Linked DNA regions of Homo sapiens: region 2 is linked to region 1. Evidence: promoter capture Hi-C in 16 types of primary human blood cells and fetal thymus (Javierre and others, 2016). All regions are on one chromosome and are shown on one strand. Each heading gives the region's core, a stretch centred on a gene start or on the middle of the fragment in contact. The rest is flanking DNA. Distances are from core to core; before and after follow the strand shown.

Region 1 (6,400 bases), core at 3,806-6,305:
AAATCATGAGTGTATATAGATGTAATGAGTGTGCATATATATTAAATTCACTGTATTCTATTATTCAAAATATCACATTTTAAAAGACTTGATATTTGAAGAATAATGGTGGTTTCAAATTACCCATGACCACTACTGTGTTTCTGTGTATTTTTCCTTTTGTTTCTAATAGTGTAATAAATGATCACTTTTTTTTTTTTTTGAGATGGAGTCTCACACTGTCACCCAGGCTGGAGTGCAGTGTCTCACTGCAACCTCTGCCTCCCAGGTTCAAGTGATTCTCCTGCCTCAGCCTCGTGAGTAGCTGGGATTACAGGCACACACCACACCTGGCTTTTTGTATTTTTAGTGGAGCCAGGTTTCACCATGTTGGCCAGGCTAGTTTTGAACTCCTGACCTTGAGTAATCCGTCTGCCTGGGCCTCCCAAACTGCTGAGATTACAGGCGTGAGCCATCGCTCCCAGCCTTTTTTTTTTTTTTTTTAGACAGAGTCTTGTCCTGTCACCCAGGCTGGAGTGCACTGGCACAATCTGGGCTCACTGCAACCTCCACCTCCTGGGTTCAAGTGATTCTTGAGCCTTAGCCTCCCGAGTAGCTGAGATTACAGGCATGCACCACTATGCCCAGCTAATTTTTGTATTTTTAATAGAGACGGGGTTTCACCATGTCGGCCAGGCTGGTCTCAAACTGCCGACCTCAAGTGATCCACCTGCCTCAGCCTTCCAAAGTGCTGGGATTGCAGGCATGAGCCACTGCACCCATCCAATCACTTTTCATTCTGGATCATACACTTTATCAATAGAAAATAACTCCTTTTGTCCAAAGTAATGCTATCTGCTTTAAATCCGGTTTTCTCTAATATCAGATTTGCCCTGATTTTTGTGTATCTGCTTTTGACTGATAGCTATTTCTAATCCTTTTATTTTAAAACTTGGTGGTGTTATCTTTGGAAAGTGTTTTGAAAGCTAAACAGTTGAATTTTGTTTGTTGATGTTCCCAAGTACGTTTCACACATTTGCATAATGTTGTTATAACTGATATGCTTGGTTTTATTTAGGTCATTGTGTGATGCTTTTTGCTTTTATTTTCTATGATTCGCTGCATTTTCCTTTGCTTTTCGACCATTGCCAAATAGATTACATTTTCTTTTCCTTTCATTTTAAGCTACTTCAGTGGTTTGAAAGTTGTACATCTGGCCAGGTGCAGTGGGTCAGGCCTATAATCCTAGCACTTTGGGAAGCTGACATGGGAAGTTTGCTTGAGCTCAGGGATTCAAGACCAGCCCTGGCAACAAAGTGAGACTCCATTCCACCAAAAAGTCTAAAAATTTGCTGGGTATGGTGGCACAAGCCTGTGGTCCCAGCTACTCAGGAAGCTGAGGCAGGAGGATTGCTTGAGCCCGGGAGGTCAAGGCTGCAGTGAGCCAAGATTGTGCCACTGCACTCCAGCCTGGGCAACAGAGTCAGACCCTGTCTCAGAAACAAAACAAAACAATACAAAAAAAGAAACAGTAAGACATGGCGCGGTGGCTCCTGTCTGTAATCCCAGCACTTTTGGAGGCCAAGGCGGGTGGATCACCTGAAGTGAGGCTTTCAAGACCAGCCTGACCAATATGGTGAAACCCTGTCTCTACTAAAAATACAAAAATTAGCCAGCCGTGGTGGCACATGCCTGTAATTCTAGCTACTCGGGAGGCTGAGGCAGGAGAATCACTTGAACCTGGGAGGCGGAGGTTGTAGTGAGCCAAGATCACGCCACTGCACTCCAGCCTGGGTGACGAGGCGAGACTGTCCCAAAAAATAAACCAACAAACAAGTGAAAGAAACAGCAGCCCAGATCCAAGGAGACAGGTTGACTGTGGATGGCCGAGGCCGCCCACCTCGGCCTCCCAAAGTGCTGGGATTACAGGCGTGACCCACCACGCCCAGCCAGAAAGCTCGTTTTGTAACCCACTTTTGGTAGCCATGTACGTAGGCAGCTTGGACAATATCTGTGGGTCCACTTGGAGGGAAGGAGGCCAGAAGGCTTGAGGGACATCTGAGTGGCATGGAGGTGACAAGGCTCTGGGAGGGCAGCAGACACTCTTGAACGCCAAGGCATGGTCAATGCCTCGTGCAGTGAGCAGCGACTCTGTGTCAGGCACTTCTCTGAACTCATCCCACGTACGAACTCATTCGCTTCCCACAGCAACCCTCCGAGGTACGCCCTATCATCATCCGCATTGCAGAGATGAGGAAACTGAAGCACAGAGAAGTTAAGTGATGTGCCCAAAGACACACAGGTGTAGGTGGCAGAGCTGGGATTGGACCCCAGGTGCTGTGGCTCCTAATCCCGGCAGGCTGGAAGCACTCCCATATGACTCCCGTGGGGCTGGGGTGGGCTTGGCAATCCTACACGAAGAAAACTTTTTTTTTTTTTTTTTTGAGATGGAGTCTCACTCTCTCACCCAGGCTGGAGTGCAGTGGCGTGATCTTGGCTCACTGCAACCTCCGCCTCCCAGGTTCAAGCGATTCTCCTGCCTCACCCTCCTGAGTAGCTGGGATTACAGGTGTGTACCACCATGCCCAGCTAATTTTTTTTTTTTTTTTTTTTTTTGAGACAGAGTCTTGCTCTGTCAACCAGGCTGGAGTGCAGTGGCGGCTCACTGCAAGCTTCGCCTCCTGGGTCCACGTCATTCTCCTGCCTCAGCCTCCCGAGTAGCTGGGACTACAGGTGGCCGCCACCATGCCTGGCTAATTTTTTGTATTTTTTGTAGTAGAGATGGGGTTTCACCGTGTTAGCCAGGATGGTCTTGATCTCCTGACCTCGTGATCTGCCTGCTTTGGCCTCCCAAAGTGCTGCTGGGATTACAGGCTTGAGCCACCGTGCCCGGCCTTTTTTTTTTTTTTTTTGAGATGGAGTTTTGCTCTCTTGCCGAGGCTGGAGTGCAGTGGTGCAGTCTTGGCTCACTGAAACCTCCACCTCTCGGGTTCAAGCGATTCTCCTACCTCAGCCTCCTGAGTAGCTGGGATTACAGGTGCGTGCCACCACACCCAGCTAATTTTTTTGTATTTTTTAGTAGAGATGGGGTTTCACCATGTTGGCCAGGCTGGTCTGGAACTCCTGACCCGCCCGTCTCGGCCTCCCAAAGTGCTGGGATTACAGGCGTAGTAAACTACCGCGTCCAGCCTAATTTTTGTATTTTTAATAGAGATGGTGTTTCACCATGTTGGCCAGGCTGGTCTTGAACTCCTGGCCTCAAGTGTTCTGCCCACCTCAGCCTCCCAAAGTGCTGGGATTACGGGCATGAGCCACCATGCCCGGCCCTGTTTTGGGGGGTTTTTTGAGATGCAGTCTTGCCCTGTTGCCCAGGCTGGAGTGCAGTGGCACAATCTCGGCTCACTGCAACCTCCGCCTCCCAGATTCAAGCGGTTCTCCTGCCTCAGCCTTCTGAGTAGCTGGGATTACAGGTGCCCGCAACTATGTCCGGCTAATTTTTGTATTTTAGTAGAGACGGAGTTTCACTACATTGGCCTGGCTGGTCTCGAACTCCTGACCTCAGGTGATCTGCCTGCCTCGGCCTCCCAAAGTGCTGGGATTACAGGCATGAGCCACCACGCCCAGCCAGAAAGCCTGTTTTGTAACCCACTTTTGGTAGCCGTGTACGTGGGTGGCTTGGACAATATTTGTGGGTCCACTTGGAGGGAAGAAGGCCAAAAGGCTTGAGGGACATCTGAGTGGCGTGGAGGTGACAAGGCTCTGGGAGGGCAGCAGACACCCTCAACGAGGGTGGAAGGTCTGCTGGGACCAGCACTGCTGAGGCTCTGGCATCTCCGTACCTGTTTCTCCCATTTCCTCCAATGGCTCCAGAGTCCTTTGGGGGAAATACTGCTCCATCCAGACTCTGAGTGGCGTGGGCCAGGGCAGGGCATCATGGTCACCAGATGGCTCCCAGCACAGGAGAGGTACAGAGCCATCCCTCCAGGGTCAGCCTCCCTGGGCAAGCAGGCTGAGTCTACCTTGTCCGGGAGGGGAGGAGGCGCATCCTGAGGGCTTAGGGGGCGTGAGCGGAGGGGAGCTCAGGGTCCCTCGGTGGATGATGGAGGAGCCACATATGGGTTACAGGGACAGACAGAAAGATGGAGAGGAAGAGACAGGGAGGCAGACACAAGGTACACTGACAGGGTCTGAAGGAGGAGGGGCTGGGGGCCTGGACTCCTGGGTCTGACAGGTACAGAGAGGAACAGACACACGCTGAAAGAGACACAAAGAGAGAGGGGACAGGCATAGTGATTCACGCCTGTAATCCCAACACTTTGGGAGGCCAAGCGGGGAGGATCACTTGAGCCCAGGAGTTCGAGACCAGTCTGGGCAACAAAGTGAGATCCCCGCCCCATCTCTACAAAAAAAAAAAAAAAAAAAAAAAGAGGGTGGGGTGGGGAGAGGGGTGGAGTTGGGGAAATACAGAGACACAAATATTGCCAGAAACAAAAAACAAGAAAGGGCCAGGCACAGTAGCTCACATCTGTAATCCCAGCTCTCTGGGAGGCTGCTGAAGCAGGAGGATCACTTGAGGCCAGCAGTTCAAGACCAGCCTGGGGAACATATGGGACCGCCCCCCGCCACCCCTCTGTCTCTACTTTAAAAAAAATTTTTTTTAATTAACAAAACCTGACCAGGCACAGTGGCTCACGTCTGTAATCCCAGCACTTTGGGAGGCCAAGGTGGGCGGATTGCTTGAGGCCAGGAGTTCAAGACCAGCCTGGTCAACATGGTAAAATCCCTTCTCTAACAAAAAATACAAAAATTAGCTGGGCATGGTGACACGAGCCTGTAATCCCAGCTACTTGGGAGGCTGAGGCAGGAGAATCACTTGAACCTAGAAGGCGGAGGTTGCAGTGAGCTGAGATCGTGCCACTGCACTCCAGAAACTGATGGAGAAGAAACATGAAGGCGGGGAGAGAGAAACTGTCAGAGGGAGGGGGAGAGAGGCAGTCTGAGAGATAGAGACACCGAGGTAAACCCGCCTCCTTCCCCAGCCCCACAGGCATAAGTAGGCAGAAGCTCACCCCCACACTGACCTCCTTCTTGGTGCTCTGACAGCGGCAGCCGGTCCTCCCTCAGCTCTGCCCGCCTTCTCTCCTGCTGCTGGCCAAGCCCATTAAGCTGCTACCTTGGCCACAACTGAAGGCCCCACGCCCTGGGAAGAAAGCTACTGAAGAGGCGTCCCTGCTCCCCAGCACCCCAAACCATCAATTAATATTAACGAGGGAAGGCTCCTCATTGCCTAAAGACCCCACTGGGGCTCCAATGGAAGAGAGGCCCCGCCCCCGTGACTCAGGAGGTTAAAGGGCCTGGTGCCGGCTTGTGAGGCCAGTGTCCAGATGGCATCCAGCAGTGGGAGGGTCACCATCCAGCTCGTGGATGAGGAGGCTGGGGTCGGAGCCGGGCGCCTGCAGCTTTTTCGGGGCCAGAGCTATGAGGCAATTCGGGCAGCCTGCCTGGATTCGGGGATCCTGTTCCGCGACCCTTACTTCCCTGCTGGCCCTGATGCCCTTGGCTATGACCAGCTGGGGCCGGACTCGGAGAAGGCCAAAGGCGTGAAATGGATGAGGCCCCATGTAAAGTGTGGCTGGGGTCTGGGCTCTGGGGTCTGAGGGAGGAGGGGCTGGAGGCATGGACTCCTGGGTCTGAGGAAGGAAGGCTGGGGGCCTGGACTCCCTGGTCTGAGGGAGGAGGGGCTCGAGACCTGGACTCTTAGGTCTGAGGGAGGAGGGGCTGGGCCTGGACTCCTGGGTCTGAGGGAGGAAGGGCTGGGCCTGGACTCTTGGGTCTGAGGGAGGAGGGGCTGGGGACCTGGACTCCTGGGTCTGAGGGAGGAGGGGGCTTGGACCTGGACTTCTGGATCTGAGGGAGGAGAGGCCAAGGCCTGGACACCTGGGTCTGAGGGAAGAGGGGGCTGGGGACCTGGACTCCGGGGTCTGAGGGAGGAGGGGCTGGACCTGGACTCCTGGGTCTGAGGGAGGAGGGGCTGGGGACCTGGATTCTTGGGTCTGAGGGAGGAGGGGCTCGGGACCTGGACTCCTGGGTCTGAGGGAGGAGGGGCTGGGCCTGGACTCCTGGGTCTGAGGGAGGAGGGGCTCGGGACCTGGACTCCTGGGTCTGAGGGAGGAGGGGCTGGGCCTGGACTCCTGGGTCTGAGGGAGGAGGGGCTCGGGACATGGACTCCTGGGTCTGAGGGAGGAGGGGCTGGGCCTGGACTCCCGGGTCTGAGGGAGGAGGGGGCTACCATGGGACTGGCTCAGCACAACTTCTGGAGACCCAGGGAAGCCATGCTCCTGCCCACAGGCTTCCAGGCCTTTCATGGGCTTGGAGGCCCTCACTCCTCTGGATGAGACCTTTCCTCGCTTTCTCAGGCTGA
Region 2 (6,171 bases), core at 3,134-5,633, 290 kb after region 1:
GATTCACGAATTCATATTCCTTCAACAACTAGTGACGGTGTGTTCCCAGATCTAAATCAGCCCCTTTGGTTTCATATTCCCAATCAGTCCCATTGCTCTCCTCTCCTCCTTGGCTCCCCATATCTATTCTTGTCCTCTCTGACTCTATCCCCAATATGAGATTCAGTCTATGATAATTCAGTCCTTATTAACACCAGGACTGAGTTTATACTTCCCCTTCCTGCACTTTTCTCTCCATCCTACTCACTTCCAGGAACCCCACTCCCACCAACCATCCAACTGGAACCCCACTCCCACCAACTGGAGAGGCCCAGTTCATTCTCCACACCAACCATCAGAAAGATTTTTCTCACTTTATCTTTTCTTTTCTTTTTTTTTTTACATTTTAATATTTTTTCTTATTTCATTGTGAATCATAATATACATACAGAAAAGTACATAAAACATATACAATCAATTCTCATTATTCATAGTTATGTTCTATAAAGTGATTATGAAGACTGAATTATCAAATACTGAACCACTGCTTCTAGGGGAAATACAGGGAGTCCCTGAGAGTCTGTGACAGTATTTTCATCAACCACTTATTACATAACCTTGTTTTTTATGTTTCTGTTTAAAGACAGTTATTTAATATATATTGTTGAGTCATTAACATTAAATTCACAGCCAACAGTACTATAACTCATGCCTTAATTAAGCTTATCTAACACATATTTTCTCAGTAAGGCACATCATAGCTTTCTTGCACTTAGGAAAGCTAGACAGCACTTCAGCACTACACTTGGGAGACATTATAAACAGTGAAATCAACAAAAAGGACAAAACTGTCTGGGTGCAGTGGCTCACGCCTGTAATCCCAGCTCTTTGGGAGGTGGAGGCGGGTGGATCACCTGAGGTCAGGAGTTTGAGACGAGCCTGGCCAACATGGCGAAACCCCATCTCTACTAAAAATACAAAAATTAGCCAGGCGTGGTGGCTCACACCTGTAGTTTCAGCTACTTGGGAGGCTGAGGAGGCAGGAGAATCATTTGAACCTGGGAGGTGGAGGTTGCAGTGAGCCAAGATCACACCACTGCACTCCAGCCTGGGTGACAGAGAGAGACTCTGTTTCAAAAAACAAGACAAAACAAAACAATTGTTGTATCTGCATCCTGGGGCCTAGATCAGTAGTGAGAGGAGCAGTGCCTCAAAGTGGAGAGCACAACCAAAGTGGCATCACACTGACCGGCTCTGCCACTAACTAGCTGTGACTGTAGAGGACCAAAACCTCCTGTGGCTCCCAAAGCCAAAGTCCTCACCAAGGCCTGGCCCTCGTCACCTCTCTGCCCTCATTTCCTCCCACTCCCCCACCCAAGCCTCCCTGCTCCAATCACCACCTGACTGTTTCTGGAACATGCCAAACACCCGCCCACCTCATGGCCTTTGCACATGGCTTCCTCTCTTCCTCCAGGTCACCCTGTCTGACAGCTCTGTCTTAAACTGCAAAACCCCAACACTCCCTACCCCTTACCTGCTGAATTTTTCTCTTTAACAGTTATTACCATCTAATATGCCATACAATTTACTTATTTATTTTATTGATCTCCTGTCTCTCCCCGCCATGTCAACTCCATAAGGACAGAGATTTTTTTCTGTTTTGTTCACAGCTGGCCTCCCCTCCCTAATGCCCAAAGATCTATTTCTGCCTCGGCACCTCCCATACCCCACACTGATTCTGTCCGCCCACCCCACAGACCCCGCGCCAGCAGACCCCGCCCGCTGAGTCGGCAGCCCTACCTCTGACCTCTGGCCCCACTCCTGGCCTCACCTCCCCAGGCCTCACCCTATACCTGAGCTTCACATAGGCCCCGCCCCTCAGCTCTTTTATTCCATCCTTCTCTCCAGGCCCCGCCCCCTGGTCGGCCATACGCCCTGCCCCTTCCCAAAGGTCCTGCCCACCAGCACAGCAGGCCCGCCCCTCCCAAGGCCCCGCCCCATCGTGTTCTCACTGGCTGGGGTTCCTGTCCGGCTCCTTCTCCTGCCCCGCCCCCTTCTCAGACCCTACTTCCCCAGGTCCCTCAGGCCCTGCCCCGCCCAGCGCCGTGGCCCCGCCCCTCAGTGGTCCCGCCCCCTGGGCCCACAGGCCCCGCTCCGCCCTCGCCACGTCCTCACCTCCTCCTGGAAGAGGCTCTGGCGGTTGCGCAGGCTTCGCAGCTTGCTCTGCTTCTCCTCGTGCTGCAAGTCCTCGGAGGGAGGCTCGAAGTAGATGATGAGGTCCTGCAGGCTCAGGATAACGCCCTCGATGGGCAGCGCCGTGCCAGCGGGTGGCCCCGAGCCCCGTGGCTTCCCGCTGAAGCTGTCCAGGCTCCTACAGGGACCTCGCAGCTGTCAGCCACGGCTGGGAGCGCTAACTGCCGCAACGTCACTGCCGCAACCTCACTCCCGCAAGACTCCCCCAGACCCACCCGTTTTACAGAGAGGGAGACCGAGACGCAGAGAGGGAAAAGCATTTGTCCGAGGTCACACAATGGCCAAGGGCAGAGCTGGGACTGGGACTCGCTCCTGTGTAGGTACAGGGGGGTCCCGGAACTCAGGGATGGAGAGGTCCAGGGTCCAGGCTCTGGGTGTCAGGGGTGTGAAAGTTGGGTGATGATCAGGAATGTGATCATGGTTGTCAAGGTCAGATTAGGGGTCAAGTGTACAGAGGTCAGGAGTTTAGAGGTTAGGGGTCATGTGTATATTATTGTTATTATTTTTTGAGAAGGGTCTCGCTCTGTCAGTGAAGCTGGAGTATAGTGGCTCACTGCAGCCTCTGCCCCCTCGGCTCAAGCAATCCTCCTTCCTCAGCTTCCCATGCAGCTGGGACTACAGGCACGTGCCACCACACCTGGCCAATATTTTGTTATTTTTTTTATAGAGACAGGGTTTCACTATATTGCTCAGGCTGGTCTCGAACTCCTGGGCTCAAGCGATCTGCCCGCCTCAGCCTCTCAAAGTGCTAGGATTACAGGCATGAGCCACTGTGCCCAGCCTAATTTTTTTTTTTTTTTTTTTTTTTTTGGTAGAGGCGGGGTCTCCCTATGCTGCCCAGGCTGGTCTCAAGCTCCTGGGCCCAAGCGATCCTCATGCCTTGCCCTCCCAAAGTCTTGGGATTACAGGTGTGAGCCACTGCGCTTGGCCCATGTATATGTTAGACAAGGGTGTGGGCAACAGAGGTAGAGATGAAAGAGGCCAAGTGTATGGATGCCCGGAGCATGGGACAGCACAGGAGTCACCCCAGCAGGGAGGGCAGGTTGCTCACTTGATGAACTGGTTGTATAGGCCATTGGTGCTGTGGATCATGCGGGCGGCCTGGGACTCCTCCTGCTGGCAGCGGGTCAGCGACAGTGCGTCGTCCATGTGGCCCTCCTGGTGCAGCATGGCCTAGGAGTGGGGAGACAGAGGTCTGGAGTGGGCCCAGCCACCCAGGGCCATGCCCCCAAGACGTCTGTCTAGACTTGAGTTCTGCACTTGCCCCCTCCTCCCTGCTCTGCAGAATCTCACTGCAAATTCCTCCTCATTTTTCTGTCCCCCGTCATCTGTCTCCTCTGTGTCTTTGATTCTCTCTCTCCTCTCTGTCTCTCTCTGTCCCTGTTTTTGGTTTTGTCTGTCTTTGTCTCTCTATCTCTCTCACCTCTGTCCCTGCCTCTCCCTCTCTATCTCTCTATCCCTATCTCCTTCCTGTCTCTGTCTCCAGGCCAGACCCTTTCCACCTGTACCTACTGCTGACTTAACATTCCCCCCGACCAGAAAGCTCTAACCCCCAAATTGAACCTGTCCCAGATAGAATGCCAGACCACCTTTCCACGAGGTGAGACCATCATGGCTGCCAGCTTCACCCCAAGCCGACCTCCCCAGAACTCATCCAGTCTGCGGCTGTAAACACCATCCACCTGCTGATGATGCTCACGTGTCCCCACTTTGGACATGGCCCAGGCCCCGTCTCTACGCCCTTGGCTCATGTATTCAACTACAGGCCTGTTTTTGCAAACGAGTGCCTCCCCAAGGATTCCTACTTGTCCATTCAGCAAGGCTGTAGTAAGTGGCTCTGTTCTAGGCACTGGCAGTAAAGCCTAAGATCCCTGTCCTTCTGAGCCAACACTGACTGTCCCCTAACTTGGTTGATGGCACTGATACAAGAGGTAGAAAAAAATTATTTAGGCAGAGAGTAAGGGCAACAGAGTCCTCGGCAGAGTTTCCTTTCTAACGGAAAGCAGCCCCCAAAATAATTTCTTTTCTAACAAAGAGCAGCCTGGAAAATCGAGCTACAAGCTTGCATGGGGGAATGTGCCGATAGAAAAGGTATACCTGGGGCTACGCATGTCCAACATGGAGGCTCCATCTTCCCTTTATTTAGTTATTTATTTATTTATTGTTTCCACGTTGTACAGAAAAGGAATGGGCAACATGGCCAGCTCAGGCAGAGGACCCGCTTGTACAATAAAAGCTTAGGGTGGAGGCAGCCAGAAATTTGTGCCCTATGCAAATGGCACAACTGGTCCAACCAGTCTTTTGCACCCTAGGTAAATCAGATACCACCTCCCCACCAGCTCATCTGTAAAGCCCCCTGCATTTCACCATGGAACCCCCTGCATTTCAACCCATTTTTCTGGGACCCTTCTCTGCAGTAGAGAGCTCCTTCTTTCGCCTATTAAATGTCCCCTCTTAACCTCACTCTTTGTGTGTCTGCGTCCTTGTTCTCTGTGGCTGTGAGACCACAAACCTTGGGTGATACTCCAGACAATGAGGCTGTTTCAGCACTTCCATCCTTCCAGTTGCTTGGGGCAAAAAATCATGGCATCATCCTCAACCCCTCCCCTTCTCTCACCCCACAGCCAATCTGTCAGCAAATCCTGTTGGCTCTACCCTCAGGACCCCACCAGAATCTACTACTCTTCCCAACTCCACAGTCCCCTCCTGGTCCTGTCCACTGTCATCTCCCATTTGTAACATCATGGCAGTCTCTTCTCTGGTCTCCCTGCTCTGGCTCTGTCCCCTGACCGTAGTCTGTTCCCAGAGACAGCCTAAGAATTCTGTGATCCTGCGTCAGGTCACTTCCCTGCCCTGCTCAAAATCTCCTGTGAGCCCATCTCACTCAGGATAAAAACTAGAACCTGGCCAGGAGCAGTGGCTCACACTTCACTTTAATCTCAGCACTTTGGGAGGCTGAGGCAGGAGGATCACTTGAGCCCCAGGAGTTTGAGACCAGCCTGTGTAATATAATGAGACCTCGTCTCTACAAAAAACAAACAAACAAACAAAACTAGACCTCTCCCATGGCCCACAAGGCCTCACACGAGCTGTTCCCATCCCCTCTCTTTCCTCACCAACCACTACTCCAGCCTGCTCACCCTGTTCCACACTGTGGCTTCTTTCTGCTACTGCAACAAGCCAAGCTCATGTTAACCTCAGGACCTTTGCACATGCTGTTCCTGCTGCCAAAAATAGTTTTCCCACTCCTTAATTGTAAAACTATGTACTTCACTAAAGGCAGTTTGTTCACAATTTCTGAGCACTGGGAGGGCAGGGAACAGGTCGCTACAGCTCATCTATTTTCTGCACACACAACCAGAACAACGCGGGTACTCAGTAATTGTTTGTTGAAAGTTATTCTCAGTTGGTCATTATCCATCTTTTTCTCACTCTCTCTGTTTTTGTTTTTGTTTTGTTTTGTTTTTGTTTTTCTGAGACGGAGTTTCACTCTTGTCAGCCAGGCTGGAGTGCAATGGCACGATATTGGCTCACTCCCAACCTCCACTTCCCAGGTTCAAGCAATTCTCCTGCCTCAGCCTCCTGAGTAGCTGGGATTACAGGCAGCTGCCACCACGCCTGGCTAATTTTTGTATTTTTAGTAGAGACAGGGTTTCACCATGTTGGCCAGGCTGGTCTCAAACTCCTGACCTCAGGTGATCCAACCGCCTGGGCCTCCCAAAGTGCTAGGATTACAGGCATGAGCCACCACGCCCGGCCGTGTCTCTGTTTCTCTGTCTCTATCTTTCTCTATTTCTCTGTTTCCATGCCTCTTTATCTCTGCCTTTCCCTGTCTGTCTACAGATTTCTGCTCTCTCTCTCTCTCCATGTAGATATATCCCTTTGTCTTTTTTGCTGTTTCTCTCAGTCTCAGTTTCTCTCCCAGTCTCTATCTTTCTC

Evidence for each region. The method cuts DNA at HindIII sites, captures the fragments that hold promoters and counts their contacts. A CHiCAGO score of 5 or more calls a contact.
Region 2: a fragment that was not itself captured here is called in contact with the fragment with the promoter of CAPN12 in region 1 in 1 of 17 cell types (non-activated CD4 T cells); the score reaches 6.4 in non-activated CD4 T cells.

The regions. Positions count from the first base shown.
Region 1 is chr19:38,743,129-38,749,528 of GRCh38, reverse strand. CAPN12 (calpain 12) reads left to right here and starts at 5,055. Exons shown (of 21, transcript NM_144691.4): 1 at 5,055-5,600. The coding sequence starts at 5,364. The HindIII fragment of the contact is 36,048 bases long and covers 2,654-6,400 here.
Region 2 is chr19:38,448,998-38,455,168 of GRCh38, reverse strand. RYR1 (ryanodine receptor 1) reads right to left here. Exons shown (of 106, transcript NM_000540.3): 12 at 3,284-3,405; 13 at 2,155-2,350. Among named protein-coding and RNA genes, the nearest start is that of RYR1, 18 kb to the right of the region's middle. RefSeq lists a silencer at 1-13 and an enhancer at 1,855-2,382. The HindIII fragment of the contact is 175 bases long and covers 4,296-4,470 here.